Regions from separate parts of the Homo sapiens genome. Here regions 2 and 3 are each linked to region 1. Evidence: promoter capture Hi-C in 16 types of primary human blood cells and fetal thymus (Javierre and others, 2016). All regions are on one chromosome and are shown on one strand. Each heading gives the region's core, a stretch centred on a gene start or on the middle of the fragment in contact. The rest is flanking DNA. Distances are from core to core; before and after follow the strand shown.

Region 1 (4,956 bases), core at 1,682-4,181:
AGACATTCTAGGAACTCCATCTGCCACGTTCCAAGATTTATTTAGCATTCAGGCCACTACAGAAGTCATGCAAGTTAGCTCATCCTGCCAAAGATGGGTAAATCCTCCTAAATTACAGCAGATGCTCAATTTCTTCAGTTTGTATGGTTATCAGAATTATCATCATCAAACATCAATCCAGCCATTTTCTAGGAGGATTATGCAAGTCCTGAACTATGTCCTTCTACCTTTCTATACTGATTTTTAGCTGATAGATGTGGAGAATATCAGCTTTTATTATCACTCAGCAGTTAAGTCCCCACATTGTCCCTCTTCTGCACAGAATGACAATACCAATGCAAGGCAAAAAGAATAACATTGAGGAATATCAGTGCTATAATCATAGCAAAGAGGCAAAAAGCAGTGTCTGAAAAAAATTAATTTCTCAATTTATTCATATTTTTTAACTTTTGTATAAAAATTTCTAGGTATTAAATACTAACACCAAGTAGAAAGAAAAAGTTCTGGACGCCTGCTCTCCTGACTCAGGGGCTGGCCTCGATCAACTAAAAACTCTAATATCTCAAATTCTTCACCTGTTAAAATAGAGATAGCATCTCTTCTACCTCCATCATAAGGCTATTTTGAAGAATGAGGATTCACAGAAGGATTAAGTACAAAGCACCATGCCATGTAAGATATTCTTATTGGAAGACAGCTTTACGGAAGTGGAAGGACTATGAAATTTGCAGGGAGACTCACCTGGGTTCAAGTCCTATCTGTAACCCTAGCAGCTGTTCATTTGTTCCTCTGACAAGGGAGGAAGATCATTACATTGTAGGGTGGTGGGGATTAAATAACACTGCACGTGGAAAGCACCTGGCACACACTATACAGAGTGAATGTTAGTGCCCTATTATAAGCAAGGTTTTTCTGCAAAAAAAAAAGTTGCCCTTTTCAGCTTTGGCCTCAGTCCTATATACAAAGATCCTAGAATTCAGTTTGCACAAGGGCTTTTCAAAGATAAGTGCATAGCAACACAATCACATTATTCAGAAAATATTATGTTTCAGAACTGCAACTAGTCTATTAACCTCAAAACAAAACAGAATGTGCTTAGTTTCATGGAAAAGCACATGATGATCTGCCTGGCACAACTAGTGCCTTTTACATTTTATATTAACAAACCATGAGCTGTTGCCCAAACCCATTCACCAAGCACAAGACTTACAATCTAACATCCCATTCTGAGTTCTCACTGAGATGAACAAGAATTACCTGAAATCGGCCGGGCGCGGTGGCTCATGCCTGTAATCCCAGCACTCTGGGAGGCCAAGGCGGGCAGATCACGAGGTCAGGAGTTCGAGACCAGCCTGAACAACATGGTGAAACCCCGCCTGTACTAAAAATACAAAAACTAGCTGGGTGTGGTGGCGGGCGCCTGTAATCCCAGCTACTCTGGAGGCTGAGGCAGGAGAATTGCTTGAACCCGGGTGTCGGAGGTTGCAGTCAGCCAAGATCATGCCACTGCACTCCAGCCTAGGCGACAGAGCGAGACTCCGTCAAAAAAAAAAAAAAAAAAAGTCACCTGAAATCATCAAAAATGGTGTACTCATAGGGAGCCAAGCCCGGGCATGTTGCTTCTTGGCTCCCACAGGTGAATTTGAAGTGGCAATAGAACTTCGTTGATTCTTGTTTTTCTCATTTTAGTTTTACTCTCTATTAAATTGTTATTTTTTACAGTTCATTTATGGATGACAAGTTATTTCCTGTTGGTAGCTGCAATGATTGGGAATTTTGTGATCTCTGTAAACGAATTAATATCTCATAGAGATCTATTTCCTGTTGGATATGAGACAACAGAGAACACAGTTTTTGTCCATTTGTCTTTTTTAAGGTCAAATCGATTAGAAATTTCTTGCCCTCAAGTAAGGAGAACAACTCTGATACCTGGACTGGCAAGCTTTTGTGTTTCTGTGTTTATTTTTCATTTGTGGCTGAACTTGTAGAATTGAGGGTATACACATTCTATCTGTATGTCTATGTATCTGTAATTCAGAAAGTCCTTTATTTCTCATTGTGAGTATGGAATGTTTTCCTGTCTCCAGATGGTATTAATAAATTAGATGGTAAAGGCTCTTTAAAAATAAAGCCTCATTATGGGTTCATTTTCCCTCTCAAACTCTGTAGAACATAACCAGTTTGAAAAGCCTCTAGATTTGGGGGTGTAAAAATTCCATGCAGCTTGAGAGCCATCAGTCATTAAGCCGCTAGTTCCACCCCAAGTCTTGCTGTCCAGAAGCTCAGACAGTCCACTGGGCAGCAAAGAGGCGCTTTAGTAAGTTGAATTAAAGCCACAAACATGGCTGCTCCCTAAGGGAGATAATACTGTGTTAAAAAAAGAGAATTATTTATCTCTTCCCATTTCCTCCGCTAAATGAGGAGGTTAATAGTAAGACCTCCTTAGCCATGAGTGTTTCCGCTGCAGGAAACACCATTCGTGCCGGTTCTGGACTCACCACCCAGCGTGTACCAACGCCCCCAGCACCATCTCCCTGCTAGGCTGACAGACCCCTGGCGGATTTTGACCTCGCAAGAAATGCAAAAGCAACTTTGGGTTGCAGAAGCCAGGCGCCCCGACCTTACCCTCGCTGGAATTCCCGAAGACCTCGGCTGCACCAGCCACCCGGTGTTCGGATGCCAGCACCGCTACGACCAGCAGCTGCAGGAACCCCATTGCTGCCTGGGCCGGGCTGGGCCCACGCCAGGGCTGGGGAGAGGTGCGGGCGTGCGCGCCGGGGCCCCGCAGCCTCGCCCACGCTATCCCGGGGCGCCCGCATCGGGCGCCATCGCCCGCCAGGTGCAGACGCTTCGCACCTGCCAGCTCCGCAGCCGCCGGCGCGCGCCCCGCCGAACTCCTAGCCCCAGCGAGAGGTTTCCTCTTCCGGCACCTGACCCCCAACGCGCGTTCCCGCGCCTCCTCCCGGGCTCTCGCTGCGTCACAGCGGCGGGTCTCTGGGCGCGGGCGGCGCTGGGGCGTTTCCAGGCAGCGCGCGCCTCCTGCCGGCGCGCGGGGAACGCGCAGCCTGCGGTGCTCCCGGGAGCCCCCAGGAAGTCCTGGCTTGAGGCCCGGTCTTGCCCCACTTTTATCTCACCAAGTAGGCAAACCCACTGTGAAAGTACAAAATAACTTTCTGTTGCGGACTAACGTCGCCAGGCTCCTGTTTCCGTGTTTAACGGCCCTTTACAACAGCAAAAAAGAGGAATCAGTTGCTAAAAACACAATTGAAGGTTATTTCCCCCGGTAGCAATTGTCTTCGCTGCTGAGGCTTATGTTAGCATAAAAATGCCAGGAGAATGCTGTTTGTGTAGTGGTTACCGCACTAGTCATAAGCACTACATTTAAAAGTAGTTTCGTTTTCTCTAAGCGAAATATCCTCGAAGACACGGCCTTGGTCTGAACTTCGTCTCAAGTCTCATACCTGAGTGCTGTTTGAGGGACAGTAGTCCATGTGACAGATGGCTCATCGATGATGTGGAATTAGACGCATAGACTTAACGTTATTTGGGGAGGATTGTCTTGCTTTCCTTCCCTGGTTTTAATTTTTTTCACTTATATATTTTGATGAGCAACTTATAGCTTGGAAATTACATGTTCAGTTAGTCCACTACTAAGCTAACAATATATAGCTGTGACCATAATGTGAAGAAGTGTTAAAGACAAAATTATTCAATGATACTTGTTAAAGCACCGAACGAAGACTATTGAGGACTGTCTCAATTGGCATAGGGACCACTGCAACTGGGTCTTGCAGTGGGGAAGAGGGACTGGGCTCAACTCCGAATACAGCGTGGGCAAGAGGGAATTTATAGCCAACCAGCAGTATGGAGTTCAGTGGATGGAAAATTACTAAGAGGAAGCATCAGAGGTAAGGGGCATTTGGTGAAACTGACCTAACAGGACTTCTGAAGACATAACATCACCTGGGGGATGGTGCAGGGTGAGAAAACTGATTAGATATGGAGGAAAGGGGGTTCTTTGCTAAAACTGGATTTTTACAAAGAAGTGCACAGATGGACCTAGCAGAAGATTCAGAAGCCGTACTAGAGTTTGGCCAAGCAAATAATCTTTGTCATAGGCACAATTCTTTCTCTGCTTTCCCACTGCCTGGTCCAAATTTTCACACCTTTGGTAGCACTATCTATTTCTGTAGTGCTTATTCACTCTCCCACATGCCCCTATTCCTATAACCCTCAGTAGATGAAATCCAAGGAAGATGAAAGGGACAATTATGATAAGGGTAGCATCTGAATCAGTGGATGGATTATTCAATAAATTGTGTTCTTAACTGATTAGCTGCACTATGGGCAGAGAGAAGCAGAACTCTATCTCACACTAATTGTGAAAACAAAATCCCAAAGTAATAAAACCATAAAAGAGCTAGCAGAAGAGGGCGCTCTTTTTTTTTTTTAATAAATTGATCTCAAAATGGGAGGAGCTTTCTAAGAAGCAAAACAGCAAAGGAAACAACCATAAAGGAAAAGATTGGTAGACTTGGCTACGTAAATGCTTTTTACATAAATATTTAAATTTTATTAAAGTAAACACACAAACAATATGAAAAGGCAAGTTGACCAAAAAAAAAAAATTAGCAAAGGACATGAATGGGGAATTTCACCCCAAAAAAGAAATACAAATTACCAGTAAATACATGAAAAAAGTTCAATCTCACTAGTAAACAAATAAAAAAATCAAATTAACAAACTAAGATGTAAACATTTTAAAAGTATAAAACATCCAGTGTGGATAAAAGAGCTAAGAAGGAGGCATTCTTAGGTAGGGATACTGGGAATATACACTTTAATAAAGTAATCGGCATCAAAAATGTTTAAAAATCTTATTTTTGTAGATTTGGTATAATCCACTTTTAGATTTAAGTACATAATTAAATACACATATAAAAATTAGTATAAGCT
Region 2 (4,956 bases), core at 785-3,284, 110 kb after region 1:
TTATTAGAGATGATGGAAACAGATGAGAAAGAAGACTTGAGCTGCCAGTTCCCAGATTCAACAGTAGAAATGCTAATTGAATGGTTTCAAAGTCAAATGGTAGGTGTCTGCCTGTTACAAATTCTGTATTATGAATCTTTTGTTGCTTATTCCAAAATTTAGAACATAGAATAGCTGATTAGAACAAAAAAAAAGTATAGGGCAACAGATGTGCTCTATTTTATTCCTTAAGATATCTTAATTTTCTTTCGACTCTAAGAATAACTTTTTAAAAAGTGCTATTAGTGTACATTTTGTAAATACCAACAACAGGTCACCTGATTCTGCCCATAAAAACAGACTGGCTTTTAGATTGTGCCTGAATGACCTACTGTGGCTTAAATCAAATAGTCCTTTAAGGGAAAGAATCTTGCACATAATTGATGATTTCTCAGTCATATTGGGTTATTCACTATAAAGGACTCAATAGCAATGCTACATGGAAAGCATAATGAAAGACATTCAAAAGCCACAGGGGTTAAGTATTTGACCTGAAGTGCCATCTGGTGGTTTATTTCAATCATTTCAGTTCCAGTTCTTGAATTAAATTGGGGAATTGGGCCTTTAACCCATTTATGCGTAGTGTTCCATTATTGGAACGCTAAGCTTGTGGGAGTTATTTATATCCTACTGCTCAATGTCATCGCCCAGTTCTGATTTTTCACAAAAAAATTAGCAACCTCCAGCATAAATGGGTTAATGGTGTTACTCACTAAACAACGAGGCCTCTTTCTAGGCATCCTTCTCAAAAATTGATGATGTGGCAGAGCTACCCTTTGTCTCGATACAGTGGTAAATACCATGCTTTTAATCTGTGATGGACACATAAAATCTAAATAGTGTCACAAAAACAGATTCAGTGGAGGACAGAGGAAAGGAGATATTTTGTGCCTAAAGGATATTCAATTTTCAGTAAGATGCACTCATATGCTTATGAGTTAACTGTGTTTATATCAAAACTAATGAGAATCGTATGAAAGAATTGTGATCTACTTTTGGATCTGTGGTAGACATGAAAACTGCTTGCTTTGGGAACCTTAAGAGTACATCCTACAGCTAAAACATTTTCATATGATGTGACACAAATATTAGAGCTCCCAGCCAGTCCTGTGCTGAATACTCTGTGTTCCCACCTGGTTTACCTCTGCGTTTCTGAGAGCGAATAGTACAATCTATCCTTTAGTGGGGGTGCAGCTATACAAACTGGAGTTATTTTACTTGTTAAAACACATAATGCCTTACTATTATACTTTCTATTTGCTCTACAGATTTCTCCTCCAGAGACTTAAGGGTCCAGGTTTGCTGATTTCTTTAGGGATTGCTTCATGCTCTGTACTTGGTGTTTCCTGACATATTCCTTAGTCTATTTCAATGTCCTATCTCACCCCTTCTTTACTCCATGTTCTTCTGACCATTTAGCATGCAGTGAAAAAGGAATTTACTATTGTTAGAAGAACGTATTTCTATCCCACACCCAGAGGCCACCAATGGCAATAGTAGCCGAAGCGTACCTGTAGTTCAGCTTTTGACATGTGTCTAAAACATGTCCATTAACATGTGCTTAATCTGTTCTGTGAAAGTATTTTCAGAAATGATAAAAAGTAATGATGGTTACATCTGAATATAAGTTAGATCATGACACTCACTCCTTTTTTCAGAAACTACCAATGGCATCACATCTTACTCAGAGTAAAAACCACAGTGCTTACTGTGGGCTGCAAGGCCTCGTAGGATTTGCTCCCCATGACTTTCTGACTTCATCTCTTGTCACACATCTCCTTATTCGCTCCACGCCAAGCACAGTGGCTTTTTCACTGATTCTTAAACATGCCAGGTACACTGGCCTCAGAGCCTTTGCACTGGCTTTTCCAGGCACTGGCTTTTCACTCTGCCTGGAAAGCTCTGTCCCTAGATATTTGCATGGCTAGCTCCCTCACATTCTTCTGGTATTTACTCAAAAGTTGTGATCTCAGTTAGGCCTTGTATCACCACCCTAACTAAAATTATACCCATTTATTCTTTGTCTTACATCTCCCTGCTTTATTTTGTTCTTAGCATTCACCACTTTCTTATGTGCAATGTATTTGTAATGTTTATATCATTTATTTTCTGTCTTTTCAACTGGAATGTAAGCATCATGAATCCAATTTTTGCCATTATTTTTAAAAATTTACTGTATCCCTGGTGTTTAGAAGAATGCCTGGCTCAGTAGTTATATTTGTAATGAATGATGCTCCATGAATGATAAAGTGGATTGCATGTTTGAATGAATGGAAGTTGTTTTAAATTTATTCCTTGGATGGGTAATGGCTTGTTGATCTGTGTTTTCAGTTGCTTTCTCTCTTACTATTTGACATTTTAACTTTGAGAATCCACAAAATGACAGATATTTTACAGAACTAATGAAGATTCGGTTTTTATCCTAAAAGTAACAATAACAAAATAAACTAGATGTAGATCCAGAGAGATAAGGGACTTTTGTTGCTGTTGCTAAATTTATTTATATCTATCTAACTTATCTATATGAATTCCTCACCTTGACCCCAACCTTCCAAATTAAGTGTGTTTTCTCAAGCACACAGAGAATGACAGGATGAAAGAAGAAAAACAGCAAAAGGCAAAAAGAGCAGGACTGGCTGTTTGGAACCATAAAAGCATAGGTGTGAAATTGAGTTGTCACCACACACCTACCACGATAGACTTTATTTTAGAACCAAAAAGGAATTTGGGCCAGCATTGGGAATCCAACAAGTAGAAGATTATATGCTTATAATTTAGTGATTTGCTGATAATATTAGATTTTTCCAATTTAATATTTCAGAAGTTGGGCTGTGTTTTATGATCTTAAAATGGGGATGTGTATACATTTTAGCTCAGATCCATCCTCCCTTCCTCTCTCCCTTCTTTCCTTTTTTTATTAATAAGATACTTAGAATAGTCAAATTTTAGAGACAGAAAATAGATTGGTAGCTGCCAGGAGCTGAGGGGAGCAGGGAATGGGAAGATAATACTTATTGTGCATAGAATTTCAGTTTTGCAAGATGAAAAGAGTTATTTACATGGACGATGGTGATGGCTGCAAAACAATGTAAATGTGCTTACTACCACTGAACTATACACTTTAAAATGGTTAAGATGGTTAATTTTACATATATATTTTACCACAATAAAAAATTAAAGTTGATGGCGTCTTAGAATTTAAGGAACACAGAATCCTAGCAAATTCCCCCTTCATATTGAACATGGGAAAACTGCCCAAATAAAAGAGATTATGATGTTTTAAAAAAGAAAGCAGTGAATGATAAGGCAGGATTATATCTATGCAGTTTCAAATGCAGGCTGTAGTGACAGCAGACCTGAATTTTAACGTTGGCCCTAACTCTTCAAAGCTTGTATGACCTTGTGAAAATGTCTGAAGCTCTGTGTCTTGGTTTTCTCATCTGTAAAATGGGGATGATTGTTACTGCCACTTAGTATTGTAAGGATCCTATGAACTAATGTATGCTGAGGGCTTATGAATACACCTGGAAAAAAGGCTAGTCAGAGAGGTAATACTGAAGAGTAGAGTGTAGAGAATAGAGGGAAAATGTTTAACAGCATCCCTTTGCAATGAGGGAAAGAGAATTAGGTCCAGTTACAAGGGGAATAAAGTTACAAACTACCCATACATAGTTCACTTCTTGTGACAAAAGAGTGCAAACGTTTCTCAGACTGAAGAGAAGCTTCTGGAATATTTTAGAAAAACTTAAATTCAAAAATTTTTGGAAATAATTATGTATCTGTTAATAATAACAGATATATAATTATGGTTCCATTCATGTTTAATGATGGCCAACTTGAGAGGCCCTGTACTTTAAGATGGATACTAACCTTTTCATTAGTGCAACTGGGCATTTGCAGTTCAAATTATCATTTTGCCTGGGCCGGGGAGATCCCCTGGTTTCTTCTAGGATGCAGGTTATTTCTTTACTACTAATTGCTCCTGCCTGTTTGTTTCATATGATCAGACACTGAATGAGATAAAATACCAACACTAGTAGCCTGTTACAGTGAAGGGACATTAAATCTATAAGAATGAATTTATTAGTGTAGCTCTAGGCTTCTGGAAATGAACAAATTTCTTTTAAAATTCAGAAGTGTGTCTCCTGTGGTTAAAAAAAACTGTAGACTATGACATATTTGTTTAATTACTGAGGCTGAATTTTCTGTTTTGATTGTGAGATATTATAATGTGTGAACACAGATATTAAAAATGGAGAATTATTTGCTTTATGAAGCTCTAGATGTAAGAAGGCAAATGTAAAAATATGTCTAATTGTTTGAGTTAAGCAAGTAGTTATTTACTTTAGGTCTAACTTGATGAGTTGCCCTAGAACATTCTTATAATTTTTTTTAACTGAGGATCATGACCTTGATCCATGTCAGCAGGGGATCAGGTAGTGAAATCCCGAAAGTGTCTGACTATTTGGCAGTTTTAATTATGAGGCCATCTCAAAGTCAGCAGAAATTACAAGAATACAATTTTCAAAAAAGTGAGTGAAATACTAATGGTGAATACTAATGGTAGTAACGCCAAAGCAGGCATCATCACCTATGAGATAGATAGAGTGTAAACAGGGGAAATGAGATGTTCTGGACTGGCTTCTGACCTGTTAAATCATCATAATATACTTCTCTCTTATTTTTACATTAAAAGTTAGATAATATTAATCCCAAATGTATATTTTTAAAAGTTACCATAAAAATAAAAATACTCATAACTTAAAAGAGTTCAGCCACGGGACATGCTCTCTGCAGGGGTGCTGGCTGTTCTCCCTGCGTCCCCGACTCCCAGTCCCATGAAGCAGTCCCCGTCCTACCACCCTCCGATCCCTGCTGCTTTCTGACCAGCTTTGCTTTTCATCTGTGCCTCCAGGA
Region 3 (4,956 bases), core at 1,141-3,640, 100 kb before region 1:
GAATATAACATGTATCACTATATACATACACTATAACAAGCATATAAAAAGCAAACAAGCCTACCTTCTCCCTAGGATGAGCTGCCAATATTCATAAGCTGGTTCTACTGCCTTAGGAGAGGCATAGTGGCAGGACATCAGGTAGTCTAATGACGGCATACCATTACACATGTATCCTAAAAAGACTAAATCTAGTTTGCCTTCAAGATAACTAAAGCCTAGAACGATTTCAGGAGCTGCCAATCCCAAATCATATCCTTGGTGCCTAGAATTCCTTCAAGAGGAAACTAAACTTTTTAGCCTATAAGAGATTAAGAGGCTTTACAGTGAAAATATTGTTTATAATAATAACTACACTGAAACTCAAACACATTTTAATATAGCAATAAATGAGTGATATTACATATTTCTAGGTTTCGTAAGAGTTTAGGGTCAAAAGAGTTTGTATTCAATATCTCAGCTCTTACTATAGTATCAGGAACATAAACAGATTCAAGTTTACATATTTAAAATTTCTTAAAACACAAACTTTATATGCTTATTTTCCAAAGGCTTCATTAATGAAAGTATAACACTACTTGTTTTTGTTTTTAACACTGACAAATATATTTACTGCCTGTATTCTCTAAGGCTGTGATACGGTTTGGCTGTGTCCCCACCCAAATTTCCATGCTGTTCTCGTGATAGTGAGTGAGTTCTCACTAGATCTGATAGTTTTATAAGGGGCTTCCTCTCCCTTTGCTCTGCCCTTCCCCTGGCTGCTGCCATGTGAAGAAGGACATGTTTGCTTCTCCTTCTGCCATGCCTGTAAGTTTCCTGAGGCCTCCCAGCCATGCTGGAACTGTGAGTCAATTAAACCTCTTTCCTTTAAAAATTACCCAGTCTTGGGTATTTTTATCTTTATTAGCAGCATAAGACTGGACTAATACAGGTTGTAAACAGAGAATGTCCTAAACAACACCCACAAATACTTAAGAACTCTTCCTCACATACACAACAATATTAAATAACACTGTACAAAACAGAGCTTCATTGGAAAATTTTTTTTTTTTCTGAAACAGAGTCTTGCTCTGTCGCCCAGGCTGAAGTGCAATGGTGCGATCTTGGCTCACTGCAACCTCCGCCTCCCAGGTGCAAGCGACTCTCTAGCCTCAGCCTCCCAAGTAGCTGGGATTACAGGTGTGTGTCACCATGCCCGCCTAATTTTGTATTTTTATTAGAGGTGGGGTTTCACCATGCTGGCCAGGCTGGTCTTGAATTCCTGACCTCAGGTGATCTGCTTGCCTCAGCCTCCCAAAGTGCTGGGATTACAGGGGTAAGCCACCACACCCGGCCTGGAAAACTTTTTATAAACCTAGTTACCACAGCTGTACCTTACCTTTTGATTTTTCCACTTGTGGAGTTTCATCCATTTCAACAAGGGGTTTTTTGTTTGGAGGTTCTGGGGAATCAGGCGAATCTTTTATAATCTCAGCTTCAGCCAATTCTTCTTTTCCACGCTCTAAGATTCCTTTTAATCTTTTAGAGGGACAAATAATGAAATGTAAAGTTCAAATTTTTAGAAGTCTAATGGTCTAATAATTAAACTAACTTTGCATATCAACCTTTATAAAAGATGGCTAATCTCATAAAATAAACCTAGGGACTAATCAAAAATCTCAATCTAAAACCAGGTAACAGAAATTAATGAATTAAATACAAGTTTCCCTTTTCCTTCATAATAATAATGCAATGATTCAGGAATTAGCTGTAAAATATAAAAAAAAAGAAGATACTTAAATTAAAATTTAAAAGGTAGGAAATGATGTGATCTTCAGAAGAAATTGCACAATTCTGATTTTTAAAGATAGGAACAAAATAACACTGAATTTCAAATTACAAATAAGATTAATAAGTTTATTCCCATTTATTCTCTAGTCTATGTATTGTGTAGATGTATTTATGTTCTGCAAATCAGAAACTTAACTCTAAACTTTTAGAGTTTCATCAGAGAACAAAAACACTTGCAAAATATACAAGAGTGTACTTGAAGCTCAGTGGGACCTAAATGATAGTACTTTTTCCCTCTTACAGTGAGCCAGTAGTGTTTCAGAAGCTCAGCAGCCCTAAGGAAAACATGAGCTTCTAAAGTCAAAGAGAATAAAAGTATTCTATTATTAATGGATACAATTACAGGATTTCCAGAATTAGCTTCAAAATATTCCTATGGGTGTAGTGGTAAAGGTAGTGGATGAAGATATATATGAAATGAGATCTGCCATGAATTGTTAATCATTGAAGGTAGATGATGAGTAACTATCTGTTCTTTTGCTACATATGTTTGAAATTTTCCATCATAAAAAGATGTGTTTTTCGTCAGTCGCAGTGGCTCATGCCTGTAATCCCAAGCACTTTGGGAGACCAAGATGGGCAGATCGCCTGAGGTCAGGAGATCGAGACCAGCCTGGGCAACATGGTGAAACTCCATCTCTACTACAAATACAAAAAATTGGCCAGGCATGGTGGCACATACCTATAATCCCAGCTACCTGAGAGGCTAAGGCATGAGAATCACTTGAACCCAGGAGGCAGAGGCTGCAGTGAGTCGAGATCATGCCACTGCATTCCAGCCTGGGTGATAGAGCGAGACTCTGTCTCAAAAAAATAAATAAAAATTAATTAATTTTAAAAAAAGTGACCTGGTGTTGGTCTGATTTCTGGCAAGTGGATAGAGGATATAGCCAGAGGATACGCTATTTCTATTTATAAGCCTTTATTACTTTTATGTTTTTCAGATTTAACGCTGACATCATAATATAAATCACAAACTAAAGGAAAAGAGTATACTATTAAGAAACATTTTCAGAATAGACTGTATGCCCTTCTTCTGTGCTTCCAAGGACATCCTATGCCTATTTTTATAATAGCACCTTCCACACTTTGCTGCAATCACTTTTTTTTTTTTTTGAGACAAAGTCTTACTCTATTGCCCAGGCTGGAGTGCAGTGGAGGAATCTCGGCTCACAGCAACCTCTGCCTCCCAGGTTCACGTGATTCTCGTGCCTCAGCCCCTTGAGTAGCTGAGATTACAGGCATGCACCCCCATACCCAGCTGATTTTTGTATTTTTTTAAGTAGAGACAGGATTTTGCCATGTTGGCCAGGCTGGTCTCAAACTCCTGACCTCAAGTGATCCACCCGCCTCGGCCTCCCAAAGTGCTGGGATTACAGGTGTGAACCACTGCACCCAGCCTGCAATCACTAATTTGTCTGTCTCTAGCATCACACTGTATGTTCTTCAAGGGTAGGGATCTTGTGCCAAATGCCTGGCACATCATAAGCATTCAGTAAATATTTAGTGAACAGAGGAATAAAATTATGTCTGTGAAGTTCACAACACATAAAGCACATACTGATACCAAACATCATGCATTATGATTTTCAGAAGTTAATTAGGAAAAACTAACACTAACTTTGCCCCAACAGTAAAAATTCATACTTTTTTGTGCCCAAGAAAGATCCTCTAGATTTTAAGAATGATAAAATTACAGTAATGAAAATGAATAAACATGTATTAAATGAACTACTATTAAATCAGGTTTGAATGTATGAAAGTGTTCTATGCAGAATGTGATATAACAAAAGGCACCATGGTGCTATATCAATGCCAGGAAGTCACCTCTCTGAGTCTTGCCAAGACTTTTCCTGTTCATAATCTTTCACTGCTTTCTCTGACTTGTCCTCTTTGTCTTCCCTCTTTCTTCCTCGTTTCTTTCGTTCTTCCTCTTCTGGGGGTTTGCTCCTGCATGCCATCAGACATTCCAAGACTCTTTGATGTTTCTCTGAGTTGTTGATATGGGCTCTGACAAGGGTTTCTAATTCATTCCACATGATACGGTATTGTTCATCTCTGCAGCAAAGATTTGGAAATACTCTTTAAATAATATTGAAGTGTCACTTTCTAGTGGTAAAGTAAAAACAAATAATGAAATGTGGACTTCCTTCCTCTTACTTGGTACTTAATAGTGAAATTCTAGGCTACAATATATCCATTTCTATGATTTTGTATTATTTCATCTCAAATATATATATAAACATGTCCTCAAATAGAATTTACATATGGAATAAGTTATCTTGAGAAACAATATGTATCAAGTAAATGTGATCTATAAAGTAAGAAAGAAAAAAAAATGTACCTTTTAGGGCCCTTTCCTCTTGTACCAACTGTGGAAATAGGTAGAGGATCATTTTTTCTTTCCATATCAACTAAGTTGTATATTGTTTTTTGACAGTTTAACACATCTTCTTCTGTCAGAGATTCTTTCACAATAACACTGGCTAATGGAACTACCTGTTAGATTTTTTTTAAAGAAAAAAGAAAATCTGTCTTGAAAAATAAATATCAAAACATCTAGGCAGAACTTGATTTTCGAAAGGATTTTAAAGATTATCATGGTGAAGGAATCTATAACTATCACTTCAATTTTTAATTATTAATTCTTTAACTTTAGCAAGCTCATATATTTCATTCTTTGCTTAAGAAATGGTATAAATTACAAATTGTCTAATTGATTTCTATAAAGAATATATAACTAATCTATAAGAAAAGTTGAAGCTACTTAACACTTACCGCTTGCATGTTAAAAATGGTGGTTTGTGAAATGATCATAGGCCAGTAACGGGTATGTTTTTCTAACTGATCTTTTGCTCGTTCCAAAGGGACCTCAAGACTTCCATCGATTTTATATCTGGGGTCTAGAAAAGGAGTTAATCTGTTTTCCCTCATAAATTCACCAAAATCCTAATGATAACCAAATAAGATAAAATTAGAAACTATGTCTAATGTTTCAGTATGGATTACATGTACTAGTCTGTTTCCCTGATGTCTTCTGTCCTGTGATGTGCAACAAAACATTTTTTCTAACAGTATCCCTTAACTCCACTACTTTTTTATCCTTTCTGAACTTGAAACCTATCA

The links. Contacts are between HindIII fragments. The CHiCAGO score rates a contact against its expected background, and 5 or more counts as called.
Region 2: a contact is called between a fragment that was not itself captured here and the fragment with the promoter of TM7SF3 in region 1, in 2 of 17 cell types (M2 macrophages and total B cells). The highest score is 6.5, in M2 macrophages.
Region 3: a contact is called between a fragment that was not itself captured here and the fragment with the promoter of TM7SF3 in region 1, in 5 of 17 cell types (neutrophils, M2 macrophages, monocytes and 2 more). The highest score is 9.8, in neutrophils.

What each region holds. Positions count from the first base shown.
Region 1 is chr12:27,011,453-27,016,408 of GRCh38, forward strand. TM7SF3 (transmembrane 7 superfamily member 3) reads right to left here and starts at 2,932. Exons shown (of 12, transcript NM_016551.3): 1 at 2,626-2,932. The coding sequence starts at 2,716. RefSeq lists a silencer at 2,625-3,124. The HindIII fragment of the contact is 5,016 bases long and covers 1,941-4,956 here.
Region 2 is chr12:27,123,283-27,128,238 of GRCh38, forward strand. It overlaps the pseudogene LOC124902904. Among named protein-coding and RNA genes, the nearest start is that of C12orf71, 43 kb to the left of the region's middle. The HindIII fragment of the contact is 2,783 bases long and covers 644-3,426 here.
Region 3 is chr12:26,909,800-26,914,755 of GRCh38, forward strand. INTS13 (integrator complex subunit 13) reads right to left here. Exons shown (of 17, transcript NM_018164.3): 12 at 4,609-4,779; 13 at 4,175-4,329; 14 at 3,658-3,888; 15 at 1,379-1,518. Among named protein-coding and RNA genes, the nearest start is that of INTS13, 26 kb to the right of the region's middle. The HindIII fragment of the contact is 9,163 bases long and covers 1-4,956 here.